Linked DNA regions of Homo sapiens: all the other regions are linked to region 1. The links are contacts of gene promoters, found by promoter capture Hi-C in blood cells and fetal thymus (Javierre and others, 2016). All regions are on one chromosome and are shown on one strand. Each heading gives the region's core, a stretch centred on a gene start or on the middle of the fragment in contact. The rest is flanking DNA. Distances are from core to core; before and after follow the strand shown.

What was found. Contacts are between HindIII fragments. The CHiCAGO score rates a contact against its expected background, and 5 or more counts as called.
Region 2: a contact is called between a fragment that was not itself captured here and the fragment with the promoter of RSPO3 in region 1, in 1 of 17 cell types (activated CD4 T cells). The highest score is 5.5, in activated CD4 T cells.
Region 3: a fragment that was not itself captured here is called in contact with the fragment with the promoter of RSPO3 in region 1 in 1 of 17 cell types (M1 macrophages); the score reaches 5.7 in M1 macrophages.
Region 4: a fragment that was not itself captured here is called in contact with the fragment with the promoter of RSPO3 in region 1 in 7 of 17 cell types (M1 macrophages, M2 macrophages, megakaryocytes and 4 more); the score reaches 10.0 in M1 macrophages.
Region 5: a fragment that was not itself captured here is called in contact with the fragment with the promoter of RSPO3 in region 1 in 4 of 17 cell types (megakaryocytes, endothelial precursors, erythroblasts and 1 more); the score reaches 6.8 in megakaryocytes.
Region 6: a contact is called between a fragment that was not itself captured here and the fragment with the promoter of RSPO3 in region 1, in 6 of 17 cell types (endothelial precursors, megakaryocytes, M1 macrophages and 3 more). The highest score is 9.8, in endothelial precursors.

Annotation. Positions count from the first base shown.
Region 1 is chr6:127,117,355-127,120,106 of GRCh38, reverse strand. It overlaps RSPO3 (R-spondin 3), which reads right to left and starts at 1,436. Exons shown (of 5, transcript NM_032784.5): 1 at 818-1,436. The coding sequence starts at 914. LOC105377989 (a long non-coding RNA gene) reads left to right here. Exons shown (of 14, transcript XR_002956387.2): 4 at 1-1,206. The HindIII fragment of the contact is 5,242 bases long and covers 1-2,752 here.
Region 2 is chr6:125,144,205-125,146,956 of GRCh38, reverse strand. No RefSeq gene overlaps it. Among named protein-coding and RNA genes, the nearest start is that of TPD52L1, 8.2 kb to the left of the region's middle. The HindIII fragment of the contact is 170 bases long and covers 1,298-1,467 here.
Region 3 is chr6:125,957,466-125,960,217 of GRCh38, reverse strand. The region is part of intron 1 of HINT3 (histidine triad nucleotide binding protein 3); the gene reads right to left. Among named protein-coding and RNA genes, the nearest start is that of HINT3, 2.1 kb to the right of the region's middle. RefSeq lists an enhancer at 2,226-2,275. The HindIII fragment of the contact is 1,638 bases long and covers 505-2,142 here.
Region 4 is chr6:126,004,235-126,006,986 of GRCh38, reverse strand. All of the region lies in intron 7 of TRMT11 (tRNA methyltransferase 11), which reads right to left. Among named protein-coding and RNA genes, the nearest start is that of TRMT11, 19 kb to the right of the region's middle. The HindIII fragment of the contact is 1,534 bases long and covers 638-2,171 here.
Region 5 is chr6:126,024,667-126,027,418 of GRCh38, reverse strand. The region is part of intron 12 of TRMT11 (tRNA methyltransferase 11); the gene reads right to left. Among named protein-coding and RNA genes, the nearest start is that of TRMT11, 40 kb to the right of the region's middle. The HindIII fragment of the contact is 8,451 bases long and covers 1-2,752 here.
Region 6 is chr6:126,042,351-126,045,102 of GRCh38, reverse strand. It overlaps a transcript of TRMT11 not described here. Among named protein-coding and RNA genes, the nearest start is that of TRMT11, 57 kb to the right of the region's middle. The HindIII fragment of the contact is 2,112 bases long and covers 324-2,435 here.

The sequences.
Region 1 (2,752 bases), core at 187-2,686:
GCATTAAGGGCAGCGAGGAGGCGAATCTTTAGGGAGACCCCACTCTCTGTACGTGTGTGTCCCAGGGGACACACTTGAAAGGGCCAGAGATGGTACAGACGCTCACATGTGACAAGAGAGAACCTGGAAACTCCGCACCTCCGGCTCCCCACAGCTGGGGTTTTGCTGTCTTCAACCCTCGGGCGGGGGACGTCCGGCAGCTCTGCAAACGCGCAGACACGCGAACCCCATCGCCTCGCGCGCCCTTTGGCTCCGCTGGTGCGTGTCGGGGATGCGGCCGCGCAGGCGCTCGCTCCCTGGCTTCCTGGCCGGGTAGCGGGCGTTCGGCTACCGGAGTCCAGCCTAAGGGCCCAGCCGAGGTCTCCCCGCGCGAGGCGGTTGCGCTAGGTGAGCGGGTACCGCGGCCGCGCCTCCCTTGTCATTTACTCAGCGGTCAGAGGCATCCTGCGTCTGGGAGTCCCAAGTGCCTTCGGCTGGGTGCCCCTGTCCGATCCTCAAAAGGAAAGCACAAATCCCGGGTGCGAGTCTAACCCAGGACCGAACTTTCCCGCGAACCTGAAGTTACCATGGGGCGGGAGCCACCTTAGCGCCGCGTCCGCCCGCCCCTCGCACCGGCTAGGATGCTGCGGAAGGCAGGGGCGCCGAGAGGCAAGGGTGAAAGACGCCGTCCATACCCCCAAAGCCCGAACCTGCATCTCCTCTGCGAGGCGCAGGGCGGGAGGACCGCTGCAGTTGGGAGCCGGCTCCGGACAGGCAAAGCGACCCGACAGGTGAACGCGGCGGGAGGGAGCAAACGCGTAAAAAACCCTGCACTTACTTCTTCGCTGGCGCCTTCCCCGGGAGGCGTTTTGGCTGCCGATGTATTCCATAAAGTTCAAAATGATAAAAAGCCAAGAAATCAGTCGCAAGTGCATAGTAACCCAGTAATGCTTCCCTTCCTTTCTCCTCTTTCTTTTGATTGTTAATTATATTTAATGTTTTTAAAATATATGTAGGTGTTAGGCGTATATAGACAGTGCCCGAGCAGCGGGACTTCTCCTCTCACATCCGATAGGCGTGCTGTGATGGCAAGCGAAGTGGGGCGGGTGGACAGGGAAACCAACTATTGTACTTTCAAATTATCCAAGCACTGAACTGCGGCGGCTTCGCTGGGGTGGCTGGCATCGCCGCGAACCGGGGTTCCAGGAGCCGCCGGGGCGGCCGCAGGTAGCATGTTGTGCGGCAACTGCCGCAGGCGGGATCCGGGCGGGCGAGCGGCGGCGGCGGCGGCTGCAGCGGCGGCCCCTTGGGCTCAGAAGCTGCGGCGGCTGCGGCTGCAGCGGCGGGGGCCCCTGGAGCGCAGGGGAGCGGGCGCCGTCGGCACAGCGGCCATGGCCAAGGGGCGGCGGAGAGACCCCGAGCTGCTTCTGGCGTGCGCGAGCAGGAGACGCTCCAGTGTTGGGCTGGGCTCCCGGGAGCACCACATAGGGGAGGAGGAGGAGGAGGGCAGGGAGGGGGGAGGGAGAGGAGGGCAGGGAGGGGGAGAGGAGGGGGGATGGCTGTGGGGGGCGGGGGGGAGCTCGGGGGCGGGGAAGGAAACTGCTGGAGCAACAACCCTGAGCGACCTCAATAACTTTCAATTTCAAGAGGGAAAGAGGGAGCTGGAAAAGTACAGGCGTTGCGCTTTGGCAGAGGGACGGGAAGAGGCGCCTAAGGGGTCCCGGGTCTACAGCGCAGCATCTCTGGACACTGCAGTGACGGCCGGAGAATTCCAGCCAGAAGAATGGGGAAAGCAGTGCGTGCGAAGAGCCCCTCCAGAAGGGCAGCTCTGGCGGGGAGACTTGGGCGCACTGGGGCTGGCAGGCAGTGTTGAGGCCGAAGACCCCCCACCCATCCCAGTTCGGCTCCTCTCCGCGGCCTCAAGCTAGGCGCACCCGGCTGTCGGTGGCCGTGCGCCCCTGCGCCCTTGTGCCCCAGCGCCCCCACCCCATCCCCAGCGCCGGCGCGCAACTACCCTCTCCCCCTTGGCAGATCGCTGGAGAGTTTCTGGCTGCTGACTTGTTCCCGGCTTTCCTGACCTTCTCCTCTGTTGCCTTTCTCCCTTTTTCTTTTTCTCTCTCTTTCTTTCTTTCTTTCTTTCTTTCTTTCTTTCTTTCTTTCTTTCTTTCTTTCTTTCTTTCTTTCTTTCTTTCTCTTTCTTTCTTTTCTTTCTTTCTTCCTTCCTCTTTCTTTGTCTTTCTTTCTTTCTTTCCTTCCTTCCTTCCTTCCTTCCTTCCTTCCTTCCTTCCTTCTTCTTTCTTTCTTTCTTTCCTTTCTTTCTTTCTTTTCGGCTGCAGTTGGTCGCCAGGCGGGTGGTGGGGAGGAAACTCTGTGGGTGCTGCCGGTCAGCTACTCTGAGGTTTACCTGCTCCGAGCGGGGAGGACCCAGAAGTGTGTGCGCTCAGGACCTTCCCGTTGGAAATGCAGCTGTGCTACGGCTTTCTTCCAAACCAAGGCTTTTCTGTGGCTTTGGAAGATTCCTTTCCCGCTCAGGCAATTCCCTCTATAGTCAGCTCGCCCCCCTTGGAGTTTTCTCTCCCACCCTCGGTCTCCCAGTGTTCTTGAGAGGATCTGTTGTACATTCTAATCTCGCATCTGGAAGACTGGGAATAAGATTTGGAAAGATTTTCCCAGTCTTGGGGAAGGAAGGGGAAGGTCCACTACTTTCTTATCTTCCCAGCCCAAGTGGAGGCCCAAGGCAGCAGAGAGTAAGATGCTCTGGCCCACCCAGGGA
Region 2 (2,752 bases), core at 133-2,632, 2.0 Mb after region 1:
TTCTAGAGTGGTTCTGCCCCACACCCTGGAGGGAGGAGCACCACACCAAGAGGCCAAGAAGCATCCAACAGCCAAGCCTTGCTTGGTGTGTTAGGATGTTCTTGCATTGCTTTAAATACTTGGGACTGGGTAGTTTATTTTAAAAAGAAGTTTAATTGACTCTCAGTCCTGCAGACTGTACAGGAAGCATGTCTTCAGCATCTGCTTGGCTTCCGAGGAGGTCACAGGGAGCTTTTACTCACAGTAGAAGGTGAAGCAGGAGTCGGCATATCACATGGCAAGAGAGGGGCAAGAGAGAGAGAGTAGGAGGTGCCCCACACTTTTAAATGACCAAATCTTCCGCGAACTCACTTATCAGAAAGGGGATGGTGCTAATCCATTCATGAGGGAGCCGCTTCCGTGAGCCAAGGACCTCGCATTGCACCCTACCTCCAACACTGGGTATTACATTTCAACATGAGGTTTGGTGGGAACACAGATCCAAACCGTATCACTGGGTTTCCCCTCTCAACCTATGACCATTAGATCATACCCCTTCTGTTCAATCACATTTCCTCATGGCTGTCCATTCTTCACTGAACATAAAATTAAGCATAAAAATAGAGTTTTCTTAGGTCTTTAGGTCTTCATTTATGAAGACTCCCCGTCACATAAAGCTTTGATTAAATAAGTTGCTTTTGGTTAAATAAATGTGCTTTTCTCCTGTTAATCTGTCTTTGTCGGTTTTTATTTCAGACCGAGCCAGGAGCCCTAGGAGGTTTGAGGAAACTTTTCCTTCCCTATAAGATTTACTTTGCACTTTGGGAGGCCGAGGTGGGTGGATCTCCTGAGGTCAGGAGTTCGAGACCAGCCTGACCAGCATGGCAAAACCCCGTCTCTACTACAAATACAAAAATTAGCCGGGCATGTGGTGGGCACCTGTAATCCCAACTACTTGGGAAGCTAAGGCAGGAGAATTGCTTGAACCTGGGAGGCAGAGGTTGCAGTGAGCTGAGATTGTGCCATTGCACTCCACCCTTGGTGACAGAGCAAGACTCTACCTCAAAAAAAATAAAAGATTTACTTTGACATTGAGAAGACTAAATCATATAGATCATATACCAATATGAGACTGTTCTAATTACTAAAAACTAACAAAAATTAATAAATCTTGACCAGATGCCTGAAAGAGAGCCCCTATTCAGCCAGTTGAAAGAACAATTATTTCATAAAGTACAAACATTTCATGTTTATCCCTCAAAAAGTTGTAGCTTCCCAACAAATTGAATGCATTACATGAAATGCTTTACACAAAGCTTAATGAATAAATTTTGTCTTTTCTACATTCCACTAAAGTTTCTAGACATATTCACTGGATCTGTAAATAATGCATGGATATTCAGAGAACTTGGAGGATAAAGGTGCTTATTTTCATTACAAAAGGACATATTATTTAGTTGTATCCTGAGGTTCCCATATACTAAAGCTTATTCCTTTACCCTTGAAAACTTTTTGAGAAATATATAATTGCTTTTACTAACAATCTCTAAAATGCATTTAAAATTTATTAGATCTCTGAGATTTTAATGCAGGGTTTCTCAACATTGGCACTATCGACATTTTTGCTGGATAATTCTTTGTTGTGCTATATGATGTTTAGGAACATCACTGGCCTCTACCCACTAGAGGTAGAGAGTAGTAGCCCCATGGTCATGATGATCAAAAGTCTCCCTACATTGCCACATGTCTCCTGGAGGGCAAAATCACTCTCAGGTGAGAAACACAGCAGTACCTTTTTCTTGACAACTCAGAATCATTACAAGTAAAAGTTATTACCCTGTACAATATGGGGATCCCTACACTGAAGGAATGCCTTCTGAGCCTAGGCAGGGGTGGAGATTTTTGTCCGTCATTTCCACAAACAGCCACTCTTGGAGTTTTCCTGTTTCCCTCTGTTGTTGTTAGTCATTGTTCACCTGCTTCCTTAACACATCCTTAACATCCTTAACAGATGCCACCATAGGAAGGGAAAGGAGTGATACCTTTCCTCACCCATCATAAGGGTCAGGCTAAAACTCCTACAACAAAAGATAGGTTAGCAAGTGTGTTAGTGAGTTCTCAGAGGGATAGAACTAATTTTATATATATATATATATATATATATATATATATATATATATATATATAGAGTTTATTAAGTATTAACTCACACGATCTCCCACAATAGGCCATCTGCAAGCTGAGGAGCAAGGAGAGTCAGTCCGAGCCCCAAAACTGAAGAACTTGGAATCTGATGTTCAAGCGCAGGAAGCGCTGGGAGGCTAGGCCAGTCTAGTGTTTTCGTGTTTTTCACTGCTTTATATTCCAGCTGTGCTGGCAGCTGATTAGATGGTGCGCACCAAGAATAAGGGTGAGCCTGCCTTTCCCAGCCCACTGACTCAAATATTAATCTCCTTTGGCAACACCCTCACAGACACACCCAGGATCAATACTTGGCATCCTTCAACCCAGTCCAGTTGACACTCAGTATTAACCATCACAACAATTCAAACCATAACAAATTTATGTAATCAAAGATTTGGGTTACATGGGAGCCTTCAGAAATGAAGACCCTAGAATCCAGGGGAAACTGTTTTTAGGCTTAAGTTCAATGAAGAATGGACAGCTGTGAGGAAATGTAATTGGATAAAAGGGTATAAGTTATTGGTAACAGACTGATGGGGGAAATCCAGCAAGGCCTGGCTCTTTGAATTCTTCTAGGCTTCTCTGTATG
Region 3 (2,752 bases), core at 74-2,573, 1.2 Mb after region 1:
TGAAATTGAATGTCCTCAACCTCACGTGACCCGCTGTACAACAATCCTTGTTTCCCTAATTCTCTCTCCTAGCCTTCACAGGAGCTACTTCAAACCTTTTACTTGTAAATAACCATATAACCATATAATTGCTCCTTCTCCTTTTTCAAGGCTTAACCCAAATGTCACCTGCTTAGTGCAGATTTTCCTGACTAAAATTTTAAAACTGCATCCCCTTCCTCTTTATTTTCTGCCATCTAATAAACTATAAATTTTACTTATTGTTTTGCTTATTATCCTTTTCTGCAACGACAATGTGAGCTCCACAAGGGCAAGGAGTTTTGCATGTTTTGTTTACGGCTGTATCCCCATGCCTCCAACAGTGCCTGGCACACAGAGAGTGAGGAATGAGTTTCCTCTTTCCCAGGGTCAACATTCTACCCGCCGGGCCATTTTAAACCTCTCTCTATAGGCATCTTCCCACTGGGATTTGAACACACAAAAGGTTTCACTGTTTTAAAAGCTTTCTCTTAATCCCCAACTTCTCCTGTAGCTACCACTACCTTTCCCTCCTCCCCTGGATTGCCAAATTCCTGTGAGAGTTGTCTGTATTTGCTGTCTTCACTCCTTCCTTTCCCAAGTTCTTCTCAATCAACTGCTATCTGCCTTTTGCTTCACCACTTCATGAAATTGCTCTCCTCAAGGTCAATGAACATCACTTTGGGGACACAACCAGTCCTGCTCTGACTCTGCAAGGACATACAAGGGTCATCTAACCCAGATTTGAGGATGAAGGCAGGCTAATATTGCTGCTGACATTGCTGGCAATTCCTTTCTTTTTGACATACTCCCTTCTCTTAGCCTTTCCAGCGTTCCTTCTATTTCTCTGTTCCTTCTCTATTCCCTTTCCAGGTCCTCTTCCTCTGTCTGTCCCTTATGATGTTAGTGTTCTTCAGAGTTCTGTGTAGGCCTCCCCTTCACTTTTTACCTCATGGGTGATCTCATCGCTTCCCTTCTTTTTCAGTTTCCATCTATAAACCGACAGTTCCTGTAATCTGGGTTAGAGATACAGATCCCTCTACAGAGTGCTAGACTATCCAACCATTTAAAAGACATCTCTACTTAGATGCCTCAAACTCACCTCAAACTCCACAACTCCATAGCTCAACTCATCGCTTTGCTACCTCCCACCACTCCCCTGGCCATCTTTTCTCCTCCTGTGTTCCCGAGCTTAATGAAATGGTACCACCACTACTAGTTTACCCTAGCCAGAAACCTGGAAATCATCTTTGACTTCACCCTCTTTCATTTCCTTATCCTCTTATATCTAAATCAGGGTTTCTAAACCTTGGCACTTCTGACATTTTGAGGGCTGGATAAGCCTGTTTTATGTGTGTGTGTTGATGGGGTGGTGGGGGTGCTGTCCTGTGCACTGTACCATGTTAATAGCAACCCTGGCTTTTATCCATTATTTAGGTCCCAGAAGCAACCCCTAGAAGTGCCAGAAGTTGTTACAATCAAAAGTATCTCAATACATTGCAAAATGTACCCTGGGAGGGCAAAATTGCCCCCAGTTGAGAATCACTGACCTGTATCCATCAAGTCCTCCCTGTTTTACCTCCTGAATACTGTATCCCTTAAATTGATATACTTTTCATAATCTCCTCTACCACATTCTCATTTCAGGCCATCATCAGGGTAGATTAATCTACTAGCCTTCTAACGGGTCTCCATACCTCCAGACTGGTCTCCTCCAAATCATTCTCCACAATGATGCCAGAATGACCTTTCAAAGATCAACCCCCTTCCTATAACTCCGCAACATCTTCCTCCCAACCCACCATTAAACATTGTGAAGTTTCACTTTGCTCTTCAGATAAAGACAAATTCCTTCACATGACTTCCAACACACTTAATAATCTGGTCCCTTGTTTACCTCTCCAGCCTCGCCTTTCATCCTCTCAAACTCTATGCACTAGTTAGACAATTTCTGTTAGTTTTTCTATCACACAAACTGAACCTCTCGGGGGGTCTCTCAACCTGGGACATTATTCTCTCCATTTCCTCATCTGATCAACTCCTACTTATTTCTTCATGTCTCATTTCCTCTGGAAAGCCTTCCCTAATTCTTCAGAGCTGGGTTAGATGCTCCTCCCACAAGCTTACAAAATACTGTAAAATCACCTGACCACAGCACGAGGCATTGTAACTGGCTACCTCCTCTGTATACATTCCGCCCTTTAGATTGTAAAATCGGGACACAGACTGTCCCTTATCTTGCTCAAAAACCTCCAAAACAAGGTGCTTAGAAGGAATTATATTTATTTTTTAAAAAATAAAGGAATGTTTACTACAAAAGACACAATCTTTGGAGCTAATTCTCTCAAAAAGTTGTTTCTATATGGACAAGTAAAACCAACAGAATAAAGTGTGTGCCAGATTATCCGTTTAAAAATATCTGGGCAAAGTCTTCATGCTCTGAAAATGTCCACGCATCCCAACTGACAGTGGAATTCAGAGGCAATTCAATAATAGTTTGACCTCAGACCCACTCCCTCCAGCCTATTTTCTGCCAATCTAACAAACAGCTTTCCACAATTATCATTACCTATTTTCTACTAGTTTTCTCATCAGTATCGGTATTAGAGTGTGCAGGATTTAAAATCAGTATCTTGAAGGTGGAGAAGAATCCTTGTAATAAAAGCAGAGGCCACAAAATGTTATTTGTACCAACTACCTGGGTACCTGCAAACATAGGCCAAAGCATTCGGCC
Region 4 (2,752 bases), core at 155-2,654, 1.1 Mb after region 1:
CTACAATTCTGCCAATTAAGGCAGATACTCACCTAGAAGAACTAGTTGTCAAGGGGAACAGAAAAGCTTTCCTGTGCTTCCTTAACAGAACCTTATCCATTTGGTTAGAGTGAGTTTTGAGAAGACCCAATTTACAAGTACACTGCTGAAAGGAGATGAATAATCTGTTAGACTGCACCTGATACTTAACTTCGTGCCCTTTAAGCTTTTATTTTTTTTTAAATAAAATCATAATAAATTAGCTTATCTGAACTGGTCACTGGGTAATCATTGGTAGTCATCTAGTTGTTCTTTTGATTAAATTGAAGCACTTTTTACATTTAGCTATACCTCAGTTGGAGTTTTTTAGGGGATCTTTTTGGTGGAAGAAGGGGTGCTAAAAAAAAAAGGAGAGTGAAGTGTCAAGGAGGCAAGTAACATGACTCACCCATTTCTTTTTGCGTTACCAAAAGTAAAAATACTGCATATGTGATCTATGCTAGCAACTCGGTGTTTCAATTTCTCATTACTTAAATAGTAAGCACTTTAAGGTTAGGGTAGTATCTTACAGGCAAAATAATACAATAAGAATTGAATTTATTCCATGATGTAAAAACTAATTCATGATTTTCATCTTTAAAGAACTAACTGGAAAGCTTTGCAAACGTGGAGAAATGAGAGACTGGGCTTTGGTTTTGCTGAGAGAAAAAAAAGAAAGAAAAATGGCAATATTATTGCATCTATTTTATCTTTTTTAAAAAAAGAATTCTACTTAAATAAATTAAATTAGCAGGCCGAGCAAAAGAATACTGCTAGACAATGGGACTCCTACTAGACGAACCATGGGATTCCAGGAAAAGGGGACTACAAAGGGTAGTGGGAAAAAAATGCGAAAGAGAATATTATATAAACTACAGAGATCCATTATCTCACTCTCCTAACCTTCTCTTTTTCTCCCCATTTTCTCTTCCCAGAACCAGGACAGTCAGTTCCTTAACACCTGGTTTCTGCGTCCACTATTTTACAATGATAAAACTTCAAAAGGAGCTACACTCCTTTCCTTCCACCTATGGGTCATCTGAAGGTAGACATGGCCAAGGAGTATACATTAGTCTTCTGGGTGAATTCTCATTACTGGAGGAGCTGACTCACTTGACAGAGGGGATGAGAGGGGATCAGATCTACGGCTGCAGAGTTCTGTGCTACCTAAAGCAACTGGCATCCACTTGCACATATTAATTATAAACAAAGAATTTGACATTTATAATTTTATATTTCAATTCCCTTGCCTGCTGCTATAACCTGCCAACAGTTGCAAATTACTAATATCTTGGAAATTAGCCAAAAAGAGTACTAGAAAATGAGTTTATGGTCAAATTCTTTATCATCACCATTTAATATTAGCTACATCTAACATCTTTCACCAAAAAGGCATCTAAAATATCATCAAAATAATAATCAAAAAGTAATAATGATAACCATTACAGTTCACTAAATGTCTACCACGTGTCAGGCAACTTCCTAGAAATATGATATACACATATTGCCTCACTTAATCCTCACAATATATTAGTATTACCATTTTACAAATGATAGACGTGAAACCCAGACAAGTTAAGAATCTTGCCCAAAGTCACATACTAATTGGTAAAAAGATTTAAACTTTGCTCTATTTATTCTTTTCTTTATATCATACTACCTCCTTTGGGATTAGCACCAATTGAAGTAAATACATATTCACTCACCAATTAGATAAACAAAAGCAAAATATGCTACTAAACAAATTACATTAAATTAAGTAAAGCTACACACTCTGTTAATAAGAGTGTTATATATGCCATTCACAAGTCTTGTACTGTATCACAGACAGGGCTGTGCCATTAATAGGTATTCAATAAATTCATGATGATCATTCCTTTAGCCAAACTCACATGAGAATAGTAGCACTTCCTAACAACTAAGAGATGACACAATGCTATGTCTCTTCCCCTTTGGGAAAGTGGAGACACACACTTTAAAAAAAGAATTTTTACTAAAATGAAAACCAATGTATTTGTTAAAATTGAAAGAAAAGTGTGTTTCTGCCGCTCATAATGTCATTCTAAACAACAGTAGCAAACAGTCTAAAGGAAAAAAGGAAAAGTATTTAGGCATGAAAAGATTATTTTTCTCCTTTCAGTCTCCCAGAAGCTTTCTACCCTACTCTATATCCCTGAGAAAAATCACGAACCATGAGTAGTAAGTGAGCAATACATTTGGGAAACTACATACATTTCAATTTTGTACCTTTAAAATAAAAAGGGGATTAGACACATGAATTTTTTTTAAAAAACTATTTAAAAGGCAACCAAAAGAAAAATATCAACAAATGTTTTGTGAAAACTATGGCCATGGAGAAGGACACAGAGCTACGTATTTCTCCAGTCCTTCAGAAGGTACCACCCATCGATGAGGCAAAAGGCCCAAGAGAGGACAAACTGTGCTTAAGACCTGTGTCTATTCACAATTATTGGTTATTATGTTTCAAAACAAAAGCACCAAAAATTGACTGATGTCCTAAAGCTATACTTAAACTACAAACACAAATTACGAAAATATATTTCAGCAGCACCTTTGCAAAGATCCTCCTCTCATTTTCTATTAATTGTACTATATGAACAGTCAGACGTTCCAAATATACTACCCACTGTGAGGAGCTGCCCTAAAGCAAACAGAAGCAGGTCTCCTTGCCCCTCAACACACTATAAATGGTCCATATATTGACAGCTGTGAA
Region 5 (2,752 bases), core at 125-2,624, 1.1 Mb after region 1:
ACTATAAAAGTTGCATGAATTTTTTGAAAAGATTTCAAGGAAATCTTGAAAAGGCTACCCTGGGTGCTCTTTTCATCTGTTCAAGTAGATTCTATGGAGAAGGTTGAGAGAGAATTGCTTCAGGTGACCGTCATTGAAAACGTAACTATTATACCTCAGTCTGTTGTGGACAACTCTGGAGATCAGCCTTTTATCCTATACATTTCATATAAGAAAAATGTTTTATAGAAGTAACCACTGTGACTACAACCACATATAGCAGCATCAACTACACGTTGTGTTAAGTGGGACAGCAAGATCTAGTAAAACAAACGGCCGGGCGCGGTGGCTCATGCCTGTAATCCCAGCACTTTGGGAGGCCGAGGCTGGCGGATCACGAGGTCAGGAAATCGAGACCATCCTGGCTAACATGGTGAAACCCCGTCTCTACTAAAAATACAAAAACGAAATTAGCCGGACGGGGTGGCAGGCGCCTGTAGTCCCAGCTACTTGGGAGGCTGAGGCAGGAGAATGGCGTGAACCCGGGAGGCGGAGCTTGCAGTGCGCTGAGATCCCGCCACTGCACTCCATCCTGGGCAACAGAGCAAGACTCCGTCTCAAAAAAAAAAAAAAAAAACCCAAAAAACCACATTCTACCATGGCCCCAAAAGTAACACTAGCTATACAGCAGGACAAGGAAAGACTATCTTTAAAAAAAACTAGTAATATGTCACTCAAGAATATTTACCTTTTAGAGCCGGGCGCGATGGCTCGCGCCTATAATCCCAGCACTTTGGGAGGCTGAGGTGGGCGGATCACGAGGTTAGGAGATCGAGACCATCCTGGCCAACATGGTGAAACCCCGTCTCTACTAAAAATACAAAAATTAGCTGGGCATGGTGGCACACGCCTGTAGTCCCAGCTACTCGGGAGGCTGAGGCAAGGAGAATCACTTGAACCCAGAAGGCGGAGGTTGCAGTGAGTCAAGATCACGCCACTGCACTCCAGCCTGGCAACAGAGTAAGACTCTATCTCAAAAAAAAAATTAAAAAAAAACATAAAAAGAATATTTACCTTTTAATCTTGGCACATTCTAAAGGTAGAAATATGCTTCGGTAGAGAGGCAGCAAGATGTAGAAAAAAACGACACAGAATTTCAAGTACAAAGAGGAGTTTTGGTCTCAACTCTTCCACTTACTATTTAAGCAAAATAGGATAGTCCCAGGCTACTCTTCCTCATTTCTAAAATGGGGAAATTAATAAAGTCAAATGGATAGGGAAGTTTTATAAACAATAATGCATTATAAAAGTGTTACTCATCATTCACTTGGCTTTCAGAATATATCAACAAGGAATAATGAAAAAACCTGGCCCTTCTTATCAGGCAATTTCAAAATTTTAATACAGTTGTCAAGAATTTTCTTCTTTACTACATATGTGCCATAAGCAAGTCTGAAAACTATGACCAATAATCCAAAACTTCAACATTTTATAAAATATCAATATTGCTTAGACAATTTTTGTTGTAACTTACATTTACACTTTTAAAAGAGGGATAGGGAGAATACTTTATAACAGCATACCAAGTGGGCCAAAAGTTATACTGAAGTTAAACCTAACAAGTGACAAATCAAAAATGAAGAGACACAGTATACAAAAGTGTAAAAATCTAAAACTAACAGTCTTCCATTGCCAAAATCAACAATGCTGAACAAGCCCAAGAATAATTTGTTAGAGGTGTGTGAGGACTGTTTGACAATTTTATGTCACCACTTGCATTATAAAGGATTGAGATCTTGCTGCAATTATATACATTCCTCTCCACACAAACAAAAGGTAGAAATGAAGTAATTAATTAAAAACCAAACATGATTAATTTAACATGACAAAGTATTTTTGGTTACAGTAAACATCATACTAGTAAAAATTCACTAGTTAAATTTGATCTTATATAGGGAAGACCATTTCAAAAAATTACTTGAGGCTTTTCCTTGTTGTTGTTTTTTTAAATCAATTGGAAAAGAACAAAATAAAATGATAAAAAGTAAACCTGACAAAAATGAGCACTGCCTTTACAGGTTTAAAAATACCAAAGGTGAGTACCCTCATTTATCATTTTAATATAGGACAAAAATTCTCAAAAGCCCAGTTTTCCTTCAGTCTCAAATAAATTTGCTTAGGGAAATATTATAAATCTGGGAAAAAATACCAGACTTTCTTAAACAAATAAAACTCAGTGGAAAGCAAGTATAAAAATTAGTCCACAATGGGTCTTAATTTTTAAATTTTTCCATTAAAATAGAATGGCTGATTTATTATATGGCTCCATGAATTATTAAAGAGTCTCCACAGCTTTGTCCTCCTAATTCTTTGGAATACTATTTATGTAGGCCACACAATAAAGAATGCTAATGCCATTTACTTTACTTTCTAATATCACGACTTAAAACTGCAAAATCTACAGGTAATGTTTGTTTTTTACATGTATTACTCATGTGCCTGGCACATAAATGTTAGTTACTATTATATTACTAACTCAAATGATTCTATTAAATGCTATGATTTCTAAGAGCTGTAATGTTACCATCTGAATTATCAAAATGCCTTACTTCCTTTAAAATACCAAAAGACAAACATATACATGAGAAGTAAGTGACTAGGAGAGGAGACAAAAAAGCATCCTCTAACGTACAACAGACTCCTCTTATTCAATGTGATGGACACTGGTGATGGTTAGTGTAATGGAATGAATTCTGTTCTACCCTAAAATTCA
Region 6 (2,752 bases), core at 130-2,629, 1.1 Mb after region 1:
AATTCTCATGTCTCAGCCTCCAGAGTAGCTGGGATTATAGGCGTGCACCATACCATGCCTGGGTAATTTTTGTATTTTTAGTAGAGATGGGGTTTCACCATGTTGGCCAGGCTGATCTCAAACTCCTGACCTCAGGTGATCCACCTGCCTCAGCCTCCCAAAATGCTGGGATTACAGGCATGAGCCACTGTGCCTGGCCTGATAATCAGCATTTTAACAATCAGTTCTTCCTTATACCCAAGTCCCAGAAGAGTGACCAGATTAGGCCCAGATGGGTGCCTGCACTTACAGTAGGTTGTATTAGAAAGAAGAAATATTAAGCTTAGGGAACCCAATCTTTTATAATGGGCAGTAAGCATGCCTTTACTCTGAAAGGAAGACACTATCTTCCAAGGTTGTACACAGACTTAAACCTCTGCTCCAGAAGTTAAAAGCGAGGGGGAGACAGGGGAGAGAAAGACTCTATATCTTCCAAGATTGTTCACTATACAAATATCCTCAAAAACACAGTATAGGACACAAGAAGTCTGTGCCTTTCTTAGAAAGACATATAGAAATGCAAGAGATCTATGGAGAATTGCTTCTCAATTGGTATGTAGAAAAATGGAGGCATCATGCTACCTGACTTCAAACTATACTACAAGGCTACAGTAACCAAAACAGCATGGTACTGGTACCAAAACAGAGATATAGATCGACGGAACAGAACAGAGCCCTCAGAAATAATGCCGCATATCTACAGCTATCTGATCTTTGACAAACCTGAGAAAAACAAGCAATGGGGAAAGGATTCCCTATTTAACAAATGGTGCTGGGAAAACTGGCTAGCCATACGGAGAAAGCTGAAACTGGATCCCTTCCTTACACTTTATACAAAAATTAATTCAAGATGGATTAAAGACTTAAACGTTAGACCTAAAACCATAAAAACCCTAGAAGAAAACCTAGGCATTACCATTCAGGACATAGGCATGGGCAAGGACTTCATGTCTAAAACACCAAAAGCAATGGCAACAAAAGACAAAATTGACAAATGGGATCTAATTAAACTAAAGAGCTTCTGCACAGCAAAAGAAACTACCATCAGAGTGAACAGGCAACCTACAGAATGGGAGAAAATTTTCACAACCTACTCATCTGACAAAGGGCTAATATCCAGAATCTACAATGAACTCCAACAAATTTACAAGAAAAAAACAAACGACCCCATCAAAAAGTGGGCAAAGGATATGAACAGACACTTCTCAAAAGAAGACATTTATGCAGCCAAAAGACACATGAAAAAATGCTCACCATCACTGGCCATCAGAGAAATGCAAATCAAAACCACAATGAGATACCATCTCACACCAGTTAGAATGGCAATCATTAAAAAGTCAGGAAACAACAGGTGCTGGAGAGGATGTGGAGAAATAGGAACAGTTTTACACTGTTGGTGGGACTGTAAACTAGTTCAACCATTGTAGAAGTCAGTGTGGCAATTCCTCAGGGATCTAGAACTAGAAATACCATTTGACCCAGCCATCCCATTACTGGGTATATACCCAAAGGACTATAAATCATGCTGCTATAAAGACACATGCACACGTATGTTTATTGCGGCACTATTCACAATAGCAAAGACTTGGAACCAACCCAAATGTCCAACAATGATAGACTGGACTAAGAAAATGTGGCACATATACACCATGGAATACTATGCAGCCATAAAAAATGATGAGTTCATGTCCTTTGTAGGGACATGGATGAAATTGGAAATCATCATTCTCAGTAAACTATCGCAAGAACAAAAAACAAAACACCGCATGTTCTCACTCATAGGTGGGAATTGAACAATGAGAACACATGGACACAGGAAGGGGAACATCACACTCTGGGGACTGTTGTGGGGTGGGGGGAGGGGGGAGGGATAGCATTAGGAGATATACCTAATGCTAAATGATGAGTTAATGGGTGCAGCACACCAGCATGGCACATGTATACATATGTAACTAACCTGCACATTATGCACATGTACCCTAAAACTTAAAGTATAATAATAATAAAATAAAATAAAAAAAGAAAAAAGAAAAATGGAAAAATGCAAAGGCAATTTGGCTCTTTGTGCAGAAGTCACTCCAACTTGTGGTGAGATACTCCAAGATTTATACACAAATTTTAAGGGACTCTTAAAGATTTTTAAAACTCATCAATAACAACTCAGCCCATATTGACCCACTTCACCAACTTACAACACATTACTTTGGCAGTCCATCAAAGCACAACTCCAATATCATAAGTACCATTTACATTTTCAATTTTAATTTTCTCCTCAGCCTTTTTCCTTTTCTTTTAATTTGACTAACTTCACACATAAGCCCAGCTAATCTTCACTGCTGCATGTTAGCCAAAATAGAGTTCTTCCGATAAATCCTCAGGAGAGAGCCAGGGAAGCTTGATTAAAGGAGAGATTTTTAAAGTCATAGAGGTCAAAACAGGTTCCTTTTTAGGCAATTCAGTTTGGCATGACTGCAACATGATTATCTTAGTAAGAACTTCCAAATTTTAAAACAAAAATATACTAAGCACATCTTAATATCACAAGAAATAGGGCTAGCAGTTACATAAGGGAAGCTGACTTATCTTAACATTCATCTATTAAGCCCTATTTTGTTCCATGACCCAGGCTTAAAAGACTGCCATTACAATTAAACCTCCATCCCCCAAAGAGCCCTGTCTACAAGGGCTTATAAAGGAAGGGATAAGAGCCAAA